Linked DNA regions of Homo sapiens: region 2 is linked to region 1. Evidence: promoter capture Hi-C in 16 types of primary human blood cells and fetal thymus (Javierre and others, 2016). All regions are on one chromosome and are shown on one strand. The core of a region is centred on a gene start or on the middle of the fragment in contact, and the rest is flanking DNA. Distances in the headings are between cores, read along the strand shown. Region 1 holds the start of SNRK-AS1 (SNRK antisense RNA 1). Region 2 overlaps ANO10 (anoctamin 10).

The links. Contacts are between HindIII fragments. The CHiCAGO score rates a contact against its expected background, and 5 or more counts as called.
Region 2: a contact is called between a fragment that was not itself captured here and the fragment with the promoter of SNRK-AS1 in region 1, in 4 of 17 cell types (total CD8 T cells, naive CD8 T cells, naive CD4 T cells and 1 more). The highest score is 11.8, in total CD8 T cells.

Annotation. Positions count from the first base shown.
Region 1 is chr3:43,349,066-43,354,137 of GRCh38, reverse strand. It overlaps SNRK-AS1 (SNRK antisense RNA 1), which reads left to right and starts at 2,176. Exons shown (of 3, transcript NR_046757.1): 1 at 2,176-2,540; 2 at 2,757-2,807; 3 at 4,161-5,072. It overlaps SNRK (SNF related kinase), which reads right to left. Exons shown (of 7, transcript NM_017719.5): 7 at 2,995-5,072. The HindIII fragment of the contact is 8,620 bases long and covers 1-5,072 here.
Region 2 is chr3:43,476,839-43,481,910 of GRCh38, reverse strand. All of the region lies in intron 11 of ANO10 (anoctamin 10), which reads left to right. Among named protein-coding and RNA genes, the nearest start is that of SNRK-AS1, 130 kb to the right of the region's middle. RefSeq lists an enhancer at 2,592-3,164. The HindIII fragment of the contact is 1,627 bases long and covers 1,480-3,106 here.

The DNA.
Region 1 (5,072 bases), core at 927-3,426:
AGAGAAGGGAGGCAAATGAGGTGAGCCCTGAGTTGAATGCCCCAGCTCACTGCCCAAAGGCAGTTGCCAGAACACAGAGAGGGAAAGCCCAAATAGTCTGGTTGAGTTGAGCAGGTAGTTTGAAGTTCAAGATCAATGTGCAGGGCAGAGAGGAGGGAGCTGCACAGATAGTGAGCAAGCTCCAAAAGAAAATCTGTGGTCTTTGGTTGAGTACTGATCAGTACTTATGAGAAAACTACCTGAGGCTGGAGAAAGAACCACTGGAAAGCAGCAGGCTGAACAATGCTCAGAACTTACCCAAGGCTGGTAATAGTTCATGTTCCTACCAGCCAGAGTAGAAAAGCCTCAATAGAGTCCCTAGAGAGGTATTGCCTCAGTAGTGGGCCAAATTAGCCCTAGACTGAAGACTGCTCAGGATCTGCCCTAACAGTTTAAAAGTGAGACATGAAGGATCCAATGATTTTAAATAACTGCAGTCCAAAATGAAATCCAATACTTCTCACACGAATACAAAAAATTCCAGCATTCAACAATGCAAAATTCAGTGTCCAGCATTGCAATAAAAATGAATCAAGAATTTTTATACCCAATGATAATATCTTTCATAAAGGAAAAGTAATTTTTCAAAACAAAAGCTGACAGAATGTAATGCCAGCAGATCTGCATTATATGAAATGTTAAAGAATGTTCTACAGGCAGAAGGAAAACCAAACTGTGGATCTACACAAAGAAATGAAGAGTGCTGCAAATGACAAATATGTAGCTAAAATACTCCCCCCCCCCCTGTTTAATCCCTTAAAAACTAGTTAAAACAATATTTATACATATACAAAAATAAAATGTATGACAACAGTAGTATAAGGAACAGGAAGAGGAAAATAGAGGCATACAGTTGTAAGGTTTTTATATTCTACATGAAGTGATATATTAAGATAGACTGTGATATAATAAAATACATGTATTGCAAATCTTATAGCACCCCCTGAAAAACAAGAGTTACAGCCAATAAGCCAATAGCGGAGATAAAATGGAGTAACAAAAGGTGCTCAGTTAAACCAAAACAAGGTAGCAAAAGAGGGAAAAAGAACAGACGAGACAAATAGAAAACTAGGTAGGTTTAAACTCAACCATATTGACAATTACACTAAATGTAATACATCTAAACCCTCAATCAAAGACAGACATTTGCTGATGGGATAAGAAAGCAAGCTCGAACTATATGATATCTGCAAAAAACAAACTTTAAACATAAAGACACAATAGGTTAACAGTAAAGAATGGAAAAAGATATATTCTCACAAGTCAAAAAAAAGCTGGAGTTACTGTATCACTATCACACAAAGTAGATTTCAGAACAAATAGTTTACCAGTCATAAAGAAGGAACATTTCATGAGGAAAGGGATCAATTCATTGATATGACGTAACAATCTTAAATGCTTATGTACCAAACAACAGAGCTTCAAATTTTCTAAAATAACACTGCTAGAACTAAAAGGAGAAATAGACAAATCCACAACTATAGTTGGAGATTTCAACACTCCTCTCTCAATAATTGAGACAGAAAATCAGTAAGAATATAGAAAACTTGAACATTATCAACCAACTTGAACGAACTGACATGTATAGGACACTCCACCAATAGCACTTTCCAAGCACTCAGGAAACATTCACCAAGATAGGTCGTATGTTGGGCCATAAAACAAGTTTCAGTAATTTCAAAAGATTTAAACTATAGAAAGCATGCACTGATAAAAATAGAATTAAACTAAAAATTATAGAAACCTATGTGGGAAAACCCCAAATATTTGGAAACTAAACACGTTTCAAAACATGGTATGATTTAGCCTTTAAAATGATCTCTCATACTGCTAAGTGGAAAATAAATGAGAAAGACAAGGGCAAATGCAGGGAAACCCTTTAAGAGGCATTTACAGTTGAGTGTCATGGACTAGAGTGGTAGTGGTGGTGGCAATGAGAAGGAGTCAACTGTGAAAGGCAAGTTAAGATTTGCTCATAAACTGAATGTTGGGATGAAAAAGTGGATGACACCAAGATTTTCAGCTTGAATGAAACTATTGAAGGCTAGGAGTTGATATTTATTAAGATGGGTGCGCTAGTAAAAGGATTTGAGGGGAAAGATTAGGGGTTTTGAACTTGTAAAAATTGAGATGCTGTAGACACACAGACACATCCAAGAAGAAAAGTCAAATAGATAGTTGAAATCCAGTGTTCCCAGGGTATGTGGGCTAAATATATTTTGGGCTTCTATCAGCATATAGATACTAGACTAACTGAGATCAGGAGTCACTGCAGATAGAGCAGGGGTCCAGAATTGAACATTGGGACATTCCAAATTTAGAGGTTGGAAGAATGAGGAAGGACCAGTGGACATGAAGAGCAGCAAGGCAGAAGTGAGATACTGAAAGATGGGAAGTTCATAAGGAAGAAAGTGAGCAATTCATCAAATTCTAACATGGGATTGAAAATTGATCACAGGAAGTGGTTGCATGAGGCTGGAGTAAAGGGAGTTGCGGACAAGGTAAAGTATGCCAAAGGGCACAAGATTTCTTTGGCGGGCGGGGGGGGGTTGTAAAAGTCAATTATGGTAATGGTTGTGAGAACTGAGTAAGAGTAGCTGACCTTGGAATCACAGTAACAGGAGGAAGGGCAGAGCATGTGAATGTGTATGAAGGAAGGGAGGAAGGCAGAGGTGGGAACTTGTGGCAGTTCTCATTGCTTCCCTTTATTCAATTAGGCAGCATGGTGACCAGCAGAGTGAGGAAAGGAGATGAAATAGAGAAATAAAGTAAGTATACTTAATGGGCACCCTGGCCCCACCTATGATTTGTAGCCATGAGTTTAAACATAATAATGACTGTACTTTTTCAGCCAAATCTGGTGGTGCAGGCACAGGGCATGGAGAAGGCTGGGTCTAACTGAGGTGGGATCACACAAAGCTACACTCATGAGAAGCAATACAACACAGGACACGGTTTATATTGCTGAACACCAATATGTCACTTTATTATTTGGATTTTTTTTCCCATTTGTCACATACCTGTCAATGTTTACACAATGAGGGAAATCAACCAGCATTGGAAGCAACTGACCAAATCAGTTGATAATTCTGTACCCTCTTAACACACATCAATTTTCACTTGGTAGGGATTATCTTTAATTCGGTCTCACAGCTATTCTTAAAATTGGTGTCAAGATTGTCACATCTTTAAATACAGATAGAATTGCCAGAAGTACATAATTATATATATATACACACATACAGAAAAATACAAGACTGTTTTTCCACAATATTTAATTTATACACTACTGTAACTATATGCAACTTTTGAAGACAGGTTAAGGGGTACAAGTAACTGTTTAGAGCAAGTAAGTAGTTTGGTCCAATATTATCTTAATGTAATGGTTTTTCGCTCCCTCCCTTTTATGTGACGACATACTATGACATACAAAACATGCACAATCATTCACTTATAAACAAAGGAGTAAGACACCACTCAGACTGACATTTGTATACCCCAAGGGTCAACCACACAACTAATAAGGCTATAATACAGCTATGCAGCATAAATGGTCAACACTGCTGATCCTAAAGTGAGCACCATATATACATCTGAATATAAAAAACCATTGAAACCAAACACATATGGGTTAGTTAAAAGGTGCCATTCCAAGGCTATACATAATCACAGGAAAAAGTATTTACACTGCTTGGAAAACAGCTGCAACAAAGAGTTTATTGCCAATGCCCTTTATAAACTTCTCTCCTATGTTTAATACAGATGTTACGCTCACTATCTATGTGAACCACACATCTTATTTCTGGCCCTTTATAAGATCCCTGCTCAAGAATTTCAAGCAAATATGTTCTATGGCTTCACCCACACATCTATTCTCATAGCTTTCAAATTATAAATATCACAATGAACTAGAGCTGTAGCTTAAAACATCTAGCCTAGGTCTAGAAAGTAAAATAAGTATTTTAAGTATCATTTTTACTTAGTTTAGTAAGTATACTGTGAAATTCAGAGTTCTGAGTAAAATATATTTATCCTAAAGTAGCAGAGTCAGTGTGTACTTGAAGAAACAGTGACCACAGCAATGCAGTTCTTTGGTGATGTGCCCACTCTCTGAATTACAGGACCAGATGCGTCTCAGTCCGTCACCTCAGACACATGACTCGGGGCTGAAGAGTGGGGAAGGGCCCTGGGTCCCAGCCACATGCTATCACCAATGTTGCTAAGCACTGCTTTTAAGACTCCCAGGGCACTGCATGAAAAAACAGCAACTGGCCCCTTCCATAATCAGCAATTTGCAATATACAGTGTCCTACAAGATAGAATGCCACAACAGATGATTATCTGGTCAAAAACAGTCTTTGTACAGGAATAGGTTAAAGCAAGAGTTCTTTGATTATTGTTTTGGCAGAAAAAGGCAAAGTGAAAAACAATTCCAGAAAAAAAAGTTACGAAGCAGGCTTTGTGCATTTTTGTTTGCTGTATGTGTGAATTTTACCCTTTTATGTATATTTTTTCATCAGCCAATTTCAAAGCTAGCTGAGCCAAAGGATATAACTGAATGAAAATAACAAAAGAGATAATCTAATTACCAAACTCCTAAAAACCAAATTCCAGTAGGTTTTAATTCATGGGGTTTTGACTTTGCCAACATTTGTGTGCACCTTCTGTACTAGGCCCTATAGTTCTTCTATCTACATGGAAATCCTGCAGTGTGCCCTACAGGAAGGAATTTACACAGAGCATCTTTTTGTTCTGTTAGACAGACATACACTCTCTAAGTAGAGTTAAGACATCATCACTTCATCACATTACAAAATAAGATTGTCTGCTTGTAATTTATCACTACAGGGGAAGCTGCCTTATAAATCTAAGTACTTTATCTCACCTATTACAAAAACAAGGAAATCTTTTTCAGTTAAATTTTCAGAGCCCAAACTTTGTTTTTACACTATAGCTTAAGACAAACAGGTGTGGGTATGTTCAACTGTGGTTTAAGGTTCTCAGTGCAGACACTCACTGTCCTCTGCTCTGCA
Region 2 (5,072 bases), core at 1,044-3,543, 130 kb before region 1:
GACATCAATCAATACATACAAGATGTACACTGGTTTAGTCCAAAAGGTTCTCTGAGGTTCAGGCACTGTGGACTGTCATTTTAGTGTGATTTGGAAAGCCTCTGGCTTCCAGGTCATAGGTGGATTAAAAGATTTTCTGACTGGCAATTGGTTGAAAGAGTTATTATCTAAAAACATGAAAATCAGTAGAAGGGACTGTCTGGGTTAAGATTAAGTGATTGTTGAGACCAGGGTTTTATCATGCAGATGAAGCCTCCAGATAGTGGGCTTCAGAAATAATAGATTGTAAATGTTTCCTATCATTTCTGTCAGTCTTAAGGTCTCTGTTTTGATGTTAATGCTGGTCAGCTGGGCCTGAATTCCAAAGGGAGGAGGGTATAATGAGGCATGTTCAACCCCCCATGTCCCATCATGGCCTGAACTAGTTTTTCAGGTTAGCTTTGGAATGCCCTTGGCTGAGTGAAGGACCCTCAGTCAGATGGGGAGCTTAGAATTTTATTTTTGGTTTATAGGCACAAATTGAGTATCAGTCTTAGTACCTGGCATAATTTAAAAACTACATTTTACTCATTTTTTTCACTTACAGTTGACCAAGCAAATTCAGCTTTTTTATCTAATCATATTTTGTTTTTATAAAAGTAATTCATATAAATAATTTTAAAGGTCAAATATTCCTTTAAGAGTAATAACAAAAGAATGGGTCTCTGCCCTTTCCCAATTTCCTAGAGTATATGACTCAAATTTTTAGCCCTTTTTCTGCTGTTTACCTCTATATTTCTAAATACTATGTCTTTCAGTTTTATTGACTCTCTACTATAAAATATGAATGTTTTTATGTTCCATCTTGCCAGTGTAATTTCACATCACAACTTTTGGTTAAATCAGTGATTGTATTGTTATACAATTAGTATATTGTATTATTATACAATTATTATACAATAATACAATGTAGTGGTTGTATTATTATGCACATTGTATTTGTAGATAAGTACGTAGTGTGCCATGATTATGTTTCCTTAAGCATAATTGAGTTGAAAACGGCCTTGTTTTTTCTTTGTTTGGTTTCTGTGTACCTATCATTGATTCTTTCCTAAACATAGTGTGCTTAAACACACCAGACAGCCTCTCAGTGTGTTGTGTTGTTTTCCTTGGAGAGGGTATTTCTGGAACTGTGGTGTTCCCTTCCCATTTGGGCAGTTCACCTCCAGACTGGCTGCAGGGTTTCTGTCCTCACTTCCCAACTTCTTGGGAATTCACTTGGCTTCTCGTTTACCACCCCTTTCTTGTAACCCCCTCCTTTATCTTGGCAGGTTCATGAGAGATAGTTTGGAATCTTGCATATCTGCAGACATCTTTATGCCCATCTGCCCTCCAAATTTGGAAGACATTACCCATTGCCTCTAACATTGCTGTTGAGAGCCTAATGCCAGCCTGACCCCTGATCCTTTACACGGGGTCTGTTCATTCTCTCTGGAAGCTTTCACAGTCTTCTCTTTATCCCTGGTGTCTGACATTTCACAATGATATGCCTTTGTGGTCTCCTCGATCAGAGGGACTTAACACTTGCAGACACCTGTTCTTCAGTTCTGTGAAATCCTTGAATTATTTCTTTGAGAATTATCTTTTCTCCATGTTCTATCTTTATTTCTGGCCCTCTGTTGCATTTTCTGGACTTACCATTTGTTGTATGTTTTCCCCCTATTTTTGTGTCTCCTTGTTTGTTTGGGTTCTTCTGTCTATTTTGAGATTTTCTCAACTGTATTTCCCAATTCTTCTATTGAATGTCAGCAATCATAAGTTTAGTATCCAAGAGCTCTTTTTTATTCTCTGAATGTTCCCACCTCCTTTTAGAAAATAGCATTCTGTACTTTATTTCATGAATGCAGTATTATCCCTCTGTACTTTTCTTCTGATCTCTGCTTTGTCTCTGTTTCCTCCTAATTCCTCTTTTAGTGGAAAGGCGTTTTCATTATTGTGTTACTGCCCCTGGTGCTGCCTGTAGTTCAGTCTCACTTGATAGGAAGTCTTGTGTCTTCCACTGGATGAGAGAGGGGATGGGACTTTGAAGGATAGAGAGGGGTCAAGGAGTGTCTTCTGCCCTTCTGCAGCCGTTCTGAGGTCCTAGGCTCTATCTCCTGGGGTTCTCCAAGGCCCAGGCACTGTGGGCTATCATTTTATGGTGATTCAGAAGGAGGGGAGAGCAGACGTAAGTTCATCTGTTTAATCCAGAAGTCTCCCAGGTCTCCAGGTCCCAGTATTACACTTTGACTTTAACCATTTGGTAATTAACTTTTCTCCTACTTAGTCTATCCACTTAGAAATGTCTGCAGCCTTCAACTTTCCTTTTTCCCTCCCTCCTTTCCTTCCTTTCAAAAAGCTCTCTTCAGGGCAGATGTACCAATCACATTTCATTAGAGGTCTTTACTTCTCTGGTTCTTTTTTATTGTTGAGTACTGTGAATTTGGTAATTTTTCATAGATTATTGAACTTTAGATTGACCAACTTCTGAATTAATAAATATATCAAAGTTTAATATTTATTTTTTATTTCTAACTTCACCTACTTGAAAAAGAAAGCAACAACAATGTTTAAAATGTAAATAGGATAATTAGGTATAGAAACTTTCAGAGAACATCTGGGATAACAGGGACTGTGTGTTTTTACCACATGAGACATGATACAGCTTTTATACAATTAGGCCTTAATGCTTGCTCTTATATTTTCATGTTAGCACGAGTGAAAAGGAAAAGGTAGTGCCTCTTTTCTGTTATTAAACAAAAGGATCAGGGAACCTTGATTAACACAATAATCTATGCACGAGTGAAAAGGAAAAGGTAGTGCCTCTTTTCTGTTATTAAACAAAAGGATCAGGGAACCTTGATTAACACAATAATCTATGTCCTCAAGGATAGTTTTAGAAAACCATTCAGATGGTTCACTATAGTTTCTAAAGTGCCCTAACTTGTGGAGGCATTTCTGTAGGGGGCTATAATATTATAAAACAGGTACTTGGGTTTGCTTTTAGATGCTCTAACCTTAAAATGGAGACAATTTGGAAGTCTAAGGATATATCAGACTTTTTAAAAACTATTTGACTTCTCAAGCTTTTGCCAAATGTTTGATCACAGTCAATTTATTATTGAATTATCTGCTACATATGTATGGTGTGAATAATCTGTGTTTGAAAATGAGAAAAATTGTACTGTGTCAAATATGAATACTACATAGGAGTGAGAGCTAAGCATTAATGTAAATTAATTACTTGTGCCAAAGACTTCTCCCCACTAGGAGGACAGCCTGTGTTAGCACAAGCATAAACCATCAGAGTAGACAGAGCCACTATTTTTCTGATTGTGATGATGTTGGAATTTCTCACTCACACATAGTCACTACAGTGAAATGAAAAAAGCATGGGTCCTGGAGTCAGACAGCTAAGATCCTGGCTTCAGATCTCACTAGCTAGGGGAAGTTACTTTCCAGACCTTAATTTCTTAATCTATAAAATGGGTGGTTAAAGTCCCTACTTTAAAGGGTTTGTTAGGATTGGGCTTTTCATTTATAAAACACATAGCACAGTGGTGAGGTCATAATAGATGGCTGCTGTTTTTTAGGTTGCTGATTTCAGAATTATCATTTTGCATAGAAGAGGCAACTTTGACAAGGACATTTTAAGGCATCTGTTCTGACTAACCCCAACTTCCATCTCCAGAACCTCACTCCATGTGGCTTGTATAGACAGCTCACTAACTCTGTGACCTTGGCCAGGATACGTAACCTCTCTGATCCTCAGTTTCCTTATCTGTCAAATGGGAATAAATGTAGTTTCTGCCTCATAGGGCTGTTGTGAGCATTAAATGAGTAAATATATGAAAAGCACTTAGAATAGGGCCTGGCACAAGGTAAGCATTGTGGTAAAGTGTGAACTGAAAAAACAGAGACTACTTCCTTAGAGATGGGCCATTGGGAAATCACTTCTCAACATTCCTCCCTCACTCCCTATGTGTGCCTCTGGTGTGCAGGTTGGCGGGCCCCTGCCAAAGTCAAAGAGGTCTGTCCAATTGTAAGTGATAATGGCTCTTTTTTCTGCCCGTAATGAGCAACAGGCACCTTCTATGTTAAGATTATGCCTTGCCCAAACAGGAAGGCCACGTCACCTTCGCGTCTTCCTGTGTGCTATTGTGTGTGAACACACCCAAGGTCGACTGACAGTATAGGGGATGTTAGAACATTTAAGATGAGGGGTAATTTGTCATCAGGCTATTCCCTCCTGCTCTGAGCTTACCACAAGTACAGTATTATGGTCCAGGATCCAAGGAAGCATTACGAGTTTTAGATCTGTGCTCAGATTGTTCCGTTTGATTTGCAAATGACTTTTATGCAATGACATTTTGATTTAGCACTTAAAATATAACACGTCAGCTGTTATTAACAATTATCTTAATAAAATGAAATGGAAGGTAATAGATGGAGTACGTCTTGCTTCATTTTCTGTCCATACCACTTAGGACAGTCCCTAGCATATGGTAGATGCTCAGTAAATGTTTGTTTGAGTAAGTAATTTATAAATTATTTTCATATTCATTAATAAAAAGGGAGAGGTGGTACATCTTTTTTGTGCATCTGCCTAAGTTTTATCCACTACAATACCTTTGATATTATTCTAGCTTTTCTTAACAGTTACAATAATACTGTATCTTCTCAACATCATATCATCTCAATATGCTGATCAGTTTTAATTTGAGGGATAATGAAAGATTTCTCTATTTGTAAACCAGTAGATAAATAACAGGGCTTGTCTCTAGGGAGAATACTGAAAGATGGTAGAGGGGTGCAGAGCAGGAATGGATGGAAGATCTTTTCTGTATATTCTTTGTCTTTATTTTTTAAAACTATGTATACACATTACTTTCTCAAATAAAAGAAATTTTACCCATGGTAAAAGAAAAAAAAACTCTTGTATCTGCCCACTGTGGAGATCTGCCTGCATTGAATAGTACAGGGAAATTACTTATTGATCGGCAAATTGCTTATTGATTGGCAAGGTTTGCTATGTTTTCTTTCTTCTTTCAAAA